Linked DNA regions of Homo sapiens: region 2 is linked to region 1. Evidence: promoter capture Hi-C in 16 types of primary human blood cells and fetal thymus (Javierre and others, 2016). All regions are on one chromosome and are shown on one strand. Each heading gives the region's core, a stretch centred on a gene start or on the middle of the fragment in contact. The rest is flanking DNA. Distances are from core to core; before and after follow the strand shown.

Region 1 (4,624 bases), core at 1-2,500:
CTAAGTTACGATGCTGAATTTCTATCTCAGGATCTCCCACATAGTTTGTCTCAGAATCTACCCACCATGTCACCTCCAGCAGTTTGCTTTCCCCTCCTTGTCTGCAGAGGGTGGGACTTTGAGGTCCTTCCCAGAGGGAGTGTTCTGGGCCATAGGATCACATTGTGTAACACAATGTTGTCTTCTTGACCTCTGCTGGGGTCTTCCAGTGGCACAAGGTGCTGCTTTCCTTGCCTGTGCCCAGGGGCCTCCCAAATATTCCCACCTCCCTCCCCTTGATTCCACTGGGGCCTGTCTTTCTGAAACGTATTAGAAATCAGCTCACGTGACATTTTCCTCCCTCCCTCTCTTCCATGAGCCTGAATGATAGGATGTGGCCATTTGTCAAACTCTAGAACGTCAAAGCAAAAGGACATGGCAGGGATTATTCGGTCCAAACTTCCGGTTTACATATGTGGATCCTAGGTTCAGAGGCCCGGCCAGTTAGTGGCAGGGCAGTGGGTATCCTAAGCTCAGGGCTCCTGTCTCTAAGCTCAACCCTTGCCAGTACATTGCATGGCCTTTAAGAATTCCCCGTCACCACCGCACACTGTAGTCCCTCTTACTTGAGTTGCTGGGTGAGTTCAGATTTCTGGAGATGTTCCACGGCCTCCTTGGCATTGTTGCTCAGCTGGCTGAAGTAGTCCCACATCACCGTGGCCACCTGGTCAGCACTGACCTCAGCCCTGGCTCCTGGGTGGTAACAGAGAGCAATTCATGAGGCCCCGTCTCCTGTGTGGCCCCTCTGCTCCAGCTCTGAGCTGCAGACTGGATGATGGTGGGGGTGCCTCAACCTGCCATTTTCCCTGTCTGAGCTTAGCTTTTTGGAAGCCACAGGGATATGTGAAACTGGTATAGCACCAATGCCAATGGGCCCACCACTGGGACTGGGCCAGCTCTCCTGTGAGCCACTTGGCAGCCAGGCAGACCTCATGTCCAGCTGGGGGCTGATGGGCACTCAGAAGTGTCCTTTTGCTTTGGCTCAGCCTCCATCCTGCACTACTCAGAGCAGCAGCCCAGGAGTGCCATCCAAAGACAGCTTCTACTCACCGGCGACAGCCACCAGGGCCAGGGTCAGGACCACGGCCTTCAGGAACATCCTGAGCTGCTTGCTGGGCTGGAGGAGTTTCTTGCCACACTGGATCCTCCCTACAATCAGGGGAGCTGACAGAGAGGTCCTCAGGAGAGCTCACCTGCGCTGCAGTGGGAACTGACTGAAGCTCAGAGCCAGCCAGACATTTAAACTCTCTCCCTATCGCCACCCCCCTGGCTGCCCTCCCCTCCTCCTTCCTCAGTGTGACTCCACGCTGGAAGGTGACACATTCCCAAGAGGCCTCTTGGACTTTTGTGACCCTGAGACTACGTGGAAGCTGACAGCAGATCAGGGCTCAGGCGATAGTTAGAAGTGGTGGCTGTTCCGTGCGTGGGCACCCCCACCCCCACCCCACCAACCTCAGCATGGAAGGGAGGAGGGGAACGGAAAACAGTAGGAGAAACACCTCAGGGAGCCCATGAGCCCGGGACTGATGCCTCGAGGCCCTGCTGGCGGCTCTGGGTTTGTGCCGGGCTCATGGGGGGCAAAGTCCACATCTCCTCTGTCTACCCCAGTGAAGACAGGTCCCCCCAGTCTCCACATCCGCCACTAATGCTGACTCCATCTCAGAGCACCAGACACTGGAGTGGGACCATCCAGGACTGCAGACAGCATAGTGAGCTAAAATCTAGGTCTCTTGTCAAGGTACACCCAAGAGGAGGGGGCCCTGGAGAGCCTTTGGGCAGATGGGTGTGGGAGACAGGGCCTTGTCCTGAAAGGGTTAATTGTAGAGTGCTTCATGTCCCACTCCCATGCTGTGCCTCCTTGGTCTAGTTATTCAAAGCCCTGAGCTTCAGTTTCTCCTCTGAACAATGGGATGGTTCAGTACATTAAAGAAGACATTGCTTGCGAAGTGGGTAGTACGGTCATCTCTCAGTCTCCATGGGAAATTGATTCCAGGACCCTCTGCAGATACCAAAATCCATGGATGTTCAAGTCCTTGATATAAAATGGCATAGTATTTGCATATAACCTAAGCACAGCCTCCCACATACTTTAAATCTCTAGATTACTTATAATACCTAATACGACGGAAATGCTGTGTGAATGGTTGTTATACTGTATTGTTTAGGAGGTAATCACCAAAAAAGTCTGTATATGTTTAGTACAGGTGCAATTTTTTTTTTTTTTGAGATGGAGTCTTACTCTGTCACCCAGGCTGGAGTGCAGTGGCACGATCTTAGCTCACTGCAATCTCTGCCCCCCAGGTTCAAGTGATTCTCCTGCCTCAGCCTCCTGAGTAGCTGGGATTACAGGCACCCACCACCACGCCCAGCTAATTTGTGTATTTACAGCAGAGACGGGGTTTCACCATGTTGCTCAGGCTGGTCTCCAACTCCTGGCCTCAAGCAATCCTCCCATGTGGGCCTCCCAAAGTGCTGGGCTTATAGGCGTGAGCCACTGCGCCCTGCCCAGATGCAATTTTTTTAAAACATTGTTTTTAATGGAGATGGGGTGTCGCTATGTTGCTCAGGCTGGTCTCCAACTCCTGGCCTTAAGTGATCCTCCAATCTCTGCCTCCTAAAATGCTGGGCTTACAGGCATGAGCCACTGCACCCGGCCCACAGATGCAATTTAAAAAAAAAAATATATATATATATATATATATATTTTTTTTTTTTTTTTTTTTTTTGAGATGGAGTCTTGCTCTGTCACCCAGGCTGGAGTGCAGTGGCACGATCTCGGCTCACTGCAAGCTCTGCCTCCCGGGTTCACGCCATTCTCCTGCCTCAGCCTCCCAAGTAGCTGGGACCATAGGCGCCCGCCACCACGCCCGGCTAATTTTTTTTTTTTTTTTTGTATTTTTAGTAGAGATGGGGTTTCGCCGTGTTAGCCAGGATGGTCTCGATCTCCTGACCTCGTGATCCGCCCGCCTCAACCTCCCAAAGTGCTGAGATTACAGGCGTGAGCCACCACGCCCGGCCTAAAAAATTATTTTCAATCCAAGGTTGGTTGAATCCATGGACACAGAAACCAAGGATACAGAGGGCTGCCTATAGAGCTCCTGGCACAGAGTAAGCTCTGAAAAATAGTTGCTGTTATTATAATAATCATACTGTATAATAATCATACTGTGTTCCTGATTTGGAGCAAAGCAGGGAGGGTAGCAGAGTGCTCCCTCCTCTAGTGAGAGTGGCAGAGTGAGACTCAGCCCTCTGAGGGGCGCCAGGTGGGCCAGAGGCAGGGTGATGGGTGGGACCAGCCTGAGGCCTGACTCCTGCCCTTCTTGCCCCCCAGCCACACTCCCTGGGCAGGAGCAGCTGGCTTGAGCAGAATCTTGGGACCTGAGGCTCTCAGGGGACCTCCCATTGGGGGATGGAGGGCAATGGTGGTGGTGCCCAGGAGGTCTTCTACTTAGATGTCTATTGGATCTCTAAATGAGGCTGCATGCATAATCACACACAAACATCCACTGAGAAGGTGACACACCACGTCAGCATGGGTCCCTCTGCCGGACCACACCACTCCTAGTGACTATGAGGTGACATCCAGGCACGTTGCACTATTGGCTCCTGTCGGTGAGTGCAGTGCCTGACAACAGTGAGCTACATTTATTTGTAAAAATGAACGCCATCAGAGTAGACCACAATTGTACTAACTCTAATTTGCTTTGTGTTCATTTTTTCAGTTTCCAGAAGTGGCTTAATGTTTCCTAGGGTCAAAGGCAGTCAAATGACCTCCTGACTCTGGCACCCCTTCTGCTGGGTCCCCACTGCCCTGTAGTGGTCCCCACGCTACCATGCTGCCTCCTTTTTGATGCAGCCTGTGCCATCTCTCCGTGATTGTTGGGGTCAGATGCTGGAGTCCACTCCCTGGCTTGGCATCCAGGCTCCAACACGTACTGCCTGTGTGTCCTTGGGCAAGTCTCATAACCTCTCTGAGCCTCAGTTACCTTGGTGAGACATAACCATTGTACCTGCCTCCTAGGCTGTGAGGATTCACTGAGATGATCTTATAGTGCTTGCAACAATGTCTGGCACATAGGAAAAGTGATCACTAAATGTTAGCCACGTCTTACTCCTGCAAGGCTCACCTCCCTGGAACCCATCGGTCCCAACCCTGCTCCTGAATCAGGCACAGTCCAGCTTGCAGCGGGAGCAAAGGTCAGTACTCAGTGCCCCTGTCCCTTCCCCAGGCCAGAGGGGAGGAGGAGACTGAGTCACGAATGACACCTCAGCCGCAGTTTGACCTCCAGGACTTACAGTCCTAGCAGCCGGTGCCACTAGCATGTGAGAGGTCCAGAGGCGCTTCTGTCTCACCCGCCCGCCTGGGTGCACCCATGCTGGGAGCGCCTGCACCATTTGAGCATGTCCGAGAGCATCCACCAGAGTGTGTGTGGATTCACAGAAGTGTGCAAATCACTAAGAACCAAGGGACTGGCACAGCCCATGCGTGCACCCACGCTCGCGAGGGGACCTGCTGCCTTTCAACGTGGCGGGGACGTGACCTGTTAATGAATGTATTTACTTCCCAAAGTCTGAGGGTACGTTT
Region 2 (5,158 bases), core at 2,295-4,794, 430 kb after region 1:
CTGTTTGTGAAAGAATTATTTAGAGGATTTGTGTCCTTTTCTGGGTACTGCAGAAAAAGCAAAGTGGGCATAGAATTTGGTCAGCTTCTCAATTTTCTAAGTTTCTTTTTTTTCTTTTTTTGAGACGGAGTCTTGCTCTGTTCCCCAGGCTGGAGTGCAGTGGCACGATCTCAGCTCACTGCAAGCTCCACCTCCCGGGTTCACGCCATTCTCCTGCCTCAGCCTCCTGAGTAGCTGGGACTACAGGCGCCCGCCACCATGCCTGGCTAACATTTTTGTATTTTTAGGAGAGACGGGGTTTCACCGTGTTAGCCAGGATGGTCTCGATCTCCTGACCTCATGATCCGCCTGCCTCGGCCTCCCAAAGTGCTGGGATTACAGGCATGAGCCACCGCGCCCAGCCAATTTTCTAAGTTTCTTAAAATGACCTGTTTGGAAATCATAATAGCTGTGAATACTCGGTTGATTTTATTTAAATTCTACCAAAATGTTTTTTGTTTATCAAAAAAATTTTGGCTTTTGCTAATGCGTCAGACTGCTGAGTTAGCAAGCTCATGTGCTGAATCATTTTCTGAGTCTCCAAGATAATAATTGTGAAGCTCAACATGAGGAATTGTGTTTGAGAGAGGGCTTGTAGACCAATCAGTTGTTCTGTTGAGAATCTAGTGATACTGAATGATTAGAAGGTGGGTCAGTTGTCTATAATGATAATTTTCCAGAAATTATGAGGAGTGTACCTGGAATAGAACATTATCCCAGCCACTGTTAGTGATCAAAGCAGTTGCTCCCACCCCATGACATGGTCTCTGCCATTGTCTTCACAATCTGTGTGAGGAAGATGACCATAGGCATGTAGCAACTTAACAGGAGATATTAAAGTGCAGAAACTGGGAAGATGAGTCTATAATGTTATTCTAAGCCCCGCAGAAAATTTCCTTTTGATGTGTGTTCTTTACATTCTTTTTTTTTTTGAGACAGTCTTGCTCTGTTGCCCAGGCTGGAGTGCAGTGGCGCAATCTCGGCTCATGCAAGCTCCACCTCCCGGGTTCAAGTGATTCTTTTGCCTCAGTCACCTGAGTATCTGGGATTACAGGCGAGTGCCATCATGCCCAGATAATTTTTTAAATTTTTTTATAGAGATGAGAATCTCACTCGTTGACCAGGCTAATCTCAAACTTCTGGCTTCAAGCGATCCACCTGCCTTGGCCTCCCAAAGTGCTGGGATTACAGGTGTGAGCTACCGTGCCCAGCCTTTTTTTAATTTTTAATTTTTATTGTTTTTTACCTTCAACAAACTCACTTTTACTCTTTACATTCTTTATGTAACTCTACTACCTTTTCCATCTGATTGAATTGCTACAGATGGTGATTGATACTAATAATTTTGGTGTTTGTGTTCTTGAAGATCCATTTTTTTTCTTTAAATGTATATGTCACGGTGTGAGAATAATGTTTTCTGCCATTCTTTCTGTTAAATGTGGGGTTCAGTTTTCCGGAAGCAGGGGGAATGTCTCTTGTAGGTATCTTTGTTCTAGCAGTGGTGTAGGTTCTGCTTAGCATTCCATCATTCATAGGAACCGGGACACATAGATTTTGGTCATTATATTATTCACCTTGGCCTGCCATAACAGAATACCACTGACTACGTGGCTTAAACAGCAGAATATTTTACAGTTCTTGGAGGCTGGAAATCCGACATAAAGATGCTGGCAGGTTTGGTTTCTGGTGAGAATCTTTTCCTGGTTTGCCGACAGCTGCCTTCTTCTGGTCTCACATGGCTTTTGTGCTATGCATGCACATTCCTGGTGTCTCTTCCTCTTATAAGGACACCAATTCTATTGGATTAGGTTCCCACTTTATGACTTCATTTAACCATAATTGCCTCCTTCAAGGCCCTGTATCCAAATACAATTACACTGGGGTTAGGGCTTCAAGATACGAGTTTTAAGGGGCACAATTCAGTCCATAACAATTGTATTTCCTGTTTATAGTGTTTTCATTCATTTGTTCAGCCAGCATTTATTGAGTATCTACTATGAGCCAGACAGTAGGGCCTGGAGAGTAAAAAGTCTTCAAAGAGATTACTGTTTATTGTGAGAGACATAGATAAACAGATGATTGCAAAATAGTGTAATGATACCATGACAGTGGTGGTATGAAAGCATCTGAAAGAGGCATATAACCCATACTGGGTAGGGGGAGTCACAGAGGGCTTCCCAGGGAATATCATTCCAGAACTGAGTCCTGAAAAATAAGGGGCAGAAGATAACCACCAAATGAAATGCATGATCCTTGGTTTGATCCTGAATTAAACAAAGTATAATTATAGGACATTTTGGAATAATTGGGAAAATTTCAATAGTGACTACGTGTTAAGTAATACTGTGTCAGTGTTATGTATTTTGGGTGTATAAACCCATGTTGTTGAAAAAAGTTTAAGAAATTAAAAAAATATTTTACATGTGATTATGACATTGTTTCATTATGTAGAAGGATGTTCTTGTTCATAAGAGATACTTGCTGAAGTTTTAGGAGTTAAGTGTCATGATGTAAATGTGGCAAAAAAAATGCAACAACTGGTAAATTTAGATGACAGGTAGACATTCATTTTATTATTTTTATTTATTTATTTATTTATTTTTTTTTTAATTTTTTTTTTTTATTGATCATTCTTGGGTGTTTCTCGCAGAGGGGGATTTGGCAGGGTCACAGGACAATAGTGGAGGGAAGGTCAGCAGATAAACAAGTGAACAAAGGTCTCTGGTTTTCCTAGGCAGAGGACCCTGCGGCCTTCCGCAGTGTTTGTGTCCCTGGGTACTTGAGATTAGGGAGTGGTGATGACTCTTAACGAGCATGCTGCCTTCAAGCATCTGTTTAACAAAGCACATCTTGCACCGCCCTTAATCCATTCAACCCTGAGTGGATACAGCACATGTTTCAGAGAGCACAGGGTTGGGGGTAAGGTCACAGATCAACAGGATCCCAAGGCAGAAGAATTTTTCTTAGTACAGAACAAAATGAAAAGTCTCCCATGTCTACCTCTTTCTACACAGACACGGCAACCATCCAATTTCTCAATCTTTTCCCCACCTTTCCCCCCTTTCTATTCCACAAAACCGCCATTGTCATCATGGCCCGTTCTCAACGAGCTGTTGGGTACACCTCCCAGACGGGGTGGTGGCCTGGCAGAGGGGCTCCTCACTTCCCAGTAGGGGCGGCCGGGCAGAGGCGCCCCGCACCTCCCGGACGGGGCGGCTGGCCGGGCGGGGGGCTGACCCCGCTGACCCCCCCACCTCCCTCCGGGACGGGGCGGCTGGCCGGGCAGAGGGGCTCCTCACTTCCCAGTAGGGGCGGCCGGGCAGAGGCGCCCCTCACCTCCCGGACGGGGCGGCTGGCCGGGCGGGGGGCTGACCCCCCCACCTCCCTCCCGGACGGGGCGGCTGGCCTGGCGGGGGGCTGACCCCCCCACCTCCCTCCCGGACGGGGCGGCTGGCCGGGCGGGGGGCTGACCCCCCCACCTCCCTCCCGGACGGGGCGGCTGGCCGGGCGGGGGGCTGACCCCCCCACCTCCCTCCCGGACGGGGCGGCTGGCCGGGTCATTTTATTATTTTATTAACTTTTTCTTGGTTTGAAATTTTCGAAGAAAAAGTAGCAGGGGTCAGGGTAGGTATAGGGAAGAATTAGCCAGGCAACAAATGAAGGAAAAGACACTGCCGGCAGGGGGCTCAGAGATGTGAGAGAAAAGCAAGCAAGACGTGAAGTGGGGGAGTGAGGCCAGATCAGAAAGGCTTTTATACTGTGTTAAGGAGTTTGGGTTTTTCCATGATAGAGATATTGAAGGATTTTAAGGGAGGAGAGTATCAAATGATACAATTTGCATTTTATTTTTATTTTATTTTACTTTTTCATTTTTTGAGACAGAGTCTCACTCTGTTGCCCAGGCAGGAGTGCAGTGGCACGATCTTGGCTCACTGCAACCTCCACTTCCTGTGTTCAAGTGATTCTCCTGCCTCAGCCTCCTGAGTAGCTGGAACTACAGGCCTGTGCCACCACGCCCGACTAATTTTTGTATTTTTAGTAGAGACGAGGTTTCACCATGTTGGCCAGGCTAGTCTTGAACACCTGACCTCAAGTGATGTGCCCGCCTTGGCCTCCCAAAGTTCTGGGATTACAGGTGTGAGCCATCCTGCCTGGCCTATGATTTGCATTTTCAGTAGATTACTTGGGCAGTTGGAAAATGGATTGGATTAGTGTATTTGACCAGTTAGGAGACTTATCTTGTCAGAGCCTAGGTTAGCATAATTATGGCTGAAACTAAAGTAGTGCCAGTGGGAATGAGAGAAGTGAACACATTTGTAAGACATTTAGGGGCAGCACTGATCAATGTGGGTAGACAGGGTTGAGTTAGGGATAACTCCCATATTTCTGGCTTGGAAAATTAGGGAAATAATGGGATTCTTTGATAAGATGTCTTATCTGTCTTATACGTTTTAACTTAAATTCTGCCTTCTTTGCAAAATTGCCTGTGCCATTTCTTTATGAACTGAATCTGAATTTTTTTTTTTTGAGACGGAGTCTTGCTTTGTCGCCCAGGCTGGAGCGCAGTGGCGTGATCTTGGTTCACTGCAGTCTCCACCTCCCGGATTCAAGCGATTCTCCTGCCTCAGCCTCCCGAGTAGCTGGGACTACATGTGCCTGCCACCACGCCCAGCTCATTTTTTGTATTTTTAGTAGAGACGGGGTTTCACTGTGTTAGCCAGGATGGTCTCGCTCTCCTGACCTCCTGTTCCGCCCGCCTTGGCCTCCCAAAGTGCTGGGATTACAGGCATGAGCCGCCTCACCTGGCCTGAAATTTTTTTTAATGTTTTATTCTTTTAGTGCCATATATCTGGTAATTATTTGATAAGTGTTTATTCTATCACTGGATTGGAAATTAAGGGAATTTCACATTAATATTAATTAAAGATGAATTTACTTAATAGAAATCTGCTAAGTGCTTTGTACTATTTGAAGGTAGTCACTATGTATTTCAATGTAATTATAATTTTTTTATTTTTAGAAACAGGATCTCACTCTGTTGGCCCAGCTAGAGTGTAGTGGTACAGTCATGGCTCACTAAAGCCTTGAACTCCTGAGCTCAAGCCATCCTCCTGCCTCA

Evidence for each region. Contacts are between HindIII fragments. The CHiCAGO score rates a contact against its expected background, and 5 or more counts as called.
Region 2: a fragment that was not itself captured here is called in contact with the fragment with the promoter of APOA4 in region 1 in 1 of 17 cell types (naive CD8 T cells); the score reaches 6.3 in naive CD8 T cells.

What each region holds. Positions count from the first base shown.
Region 1 is chr11:116,822,054-116,826,677 of GRCh38, forward strand. It overlaps APOA4 (apolipoprotein A4), which reads right to left and starts at 1,251. Exons shown (of 3, transcript NM_000482.4): 1 at 1,090-1,251; 2 at 606-732. The coding sequence starts at 1,138. RefSeq lists enhancers at 3,239-3,605, 3,460-3,754. The HindIII fragment of the contact is 18,172 bases long and covers 1-4,624 here.
Region 2 is chr11:117,247,973-117,253,130 of GRCh38, forward strand. All of the region lies in intron 6 of RNF214 (ring finger protein 214), which reads left to right. Among named protein-coding and RNA genes, the nearest start is that of RNF214, 18 kb to the left of the region's middle. The HindIII fragment of the contact is 9,181 bases long and covers 1-5,158 here.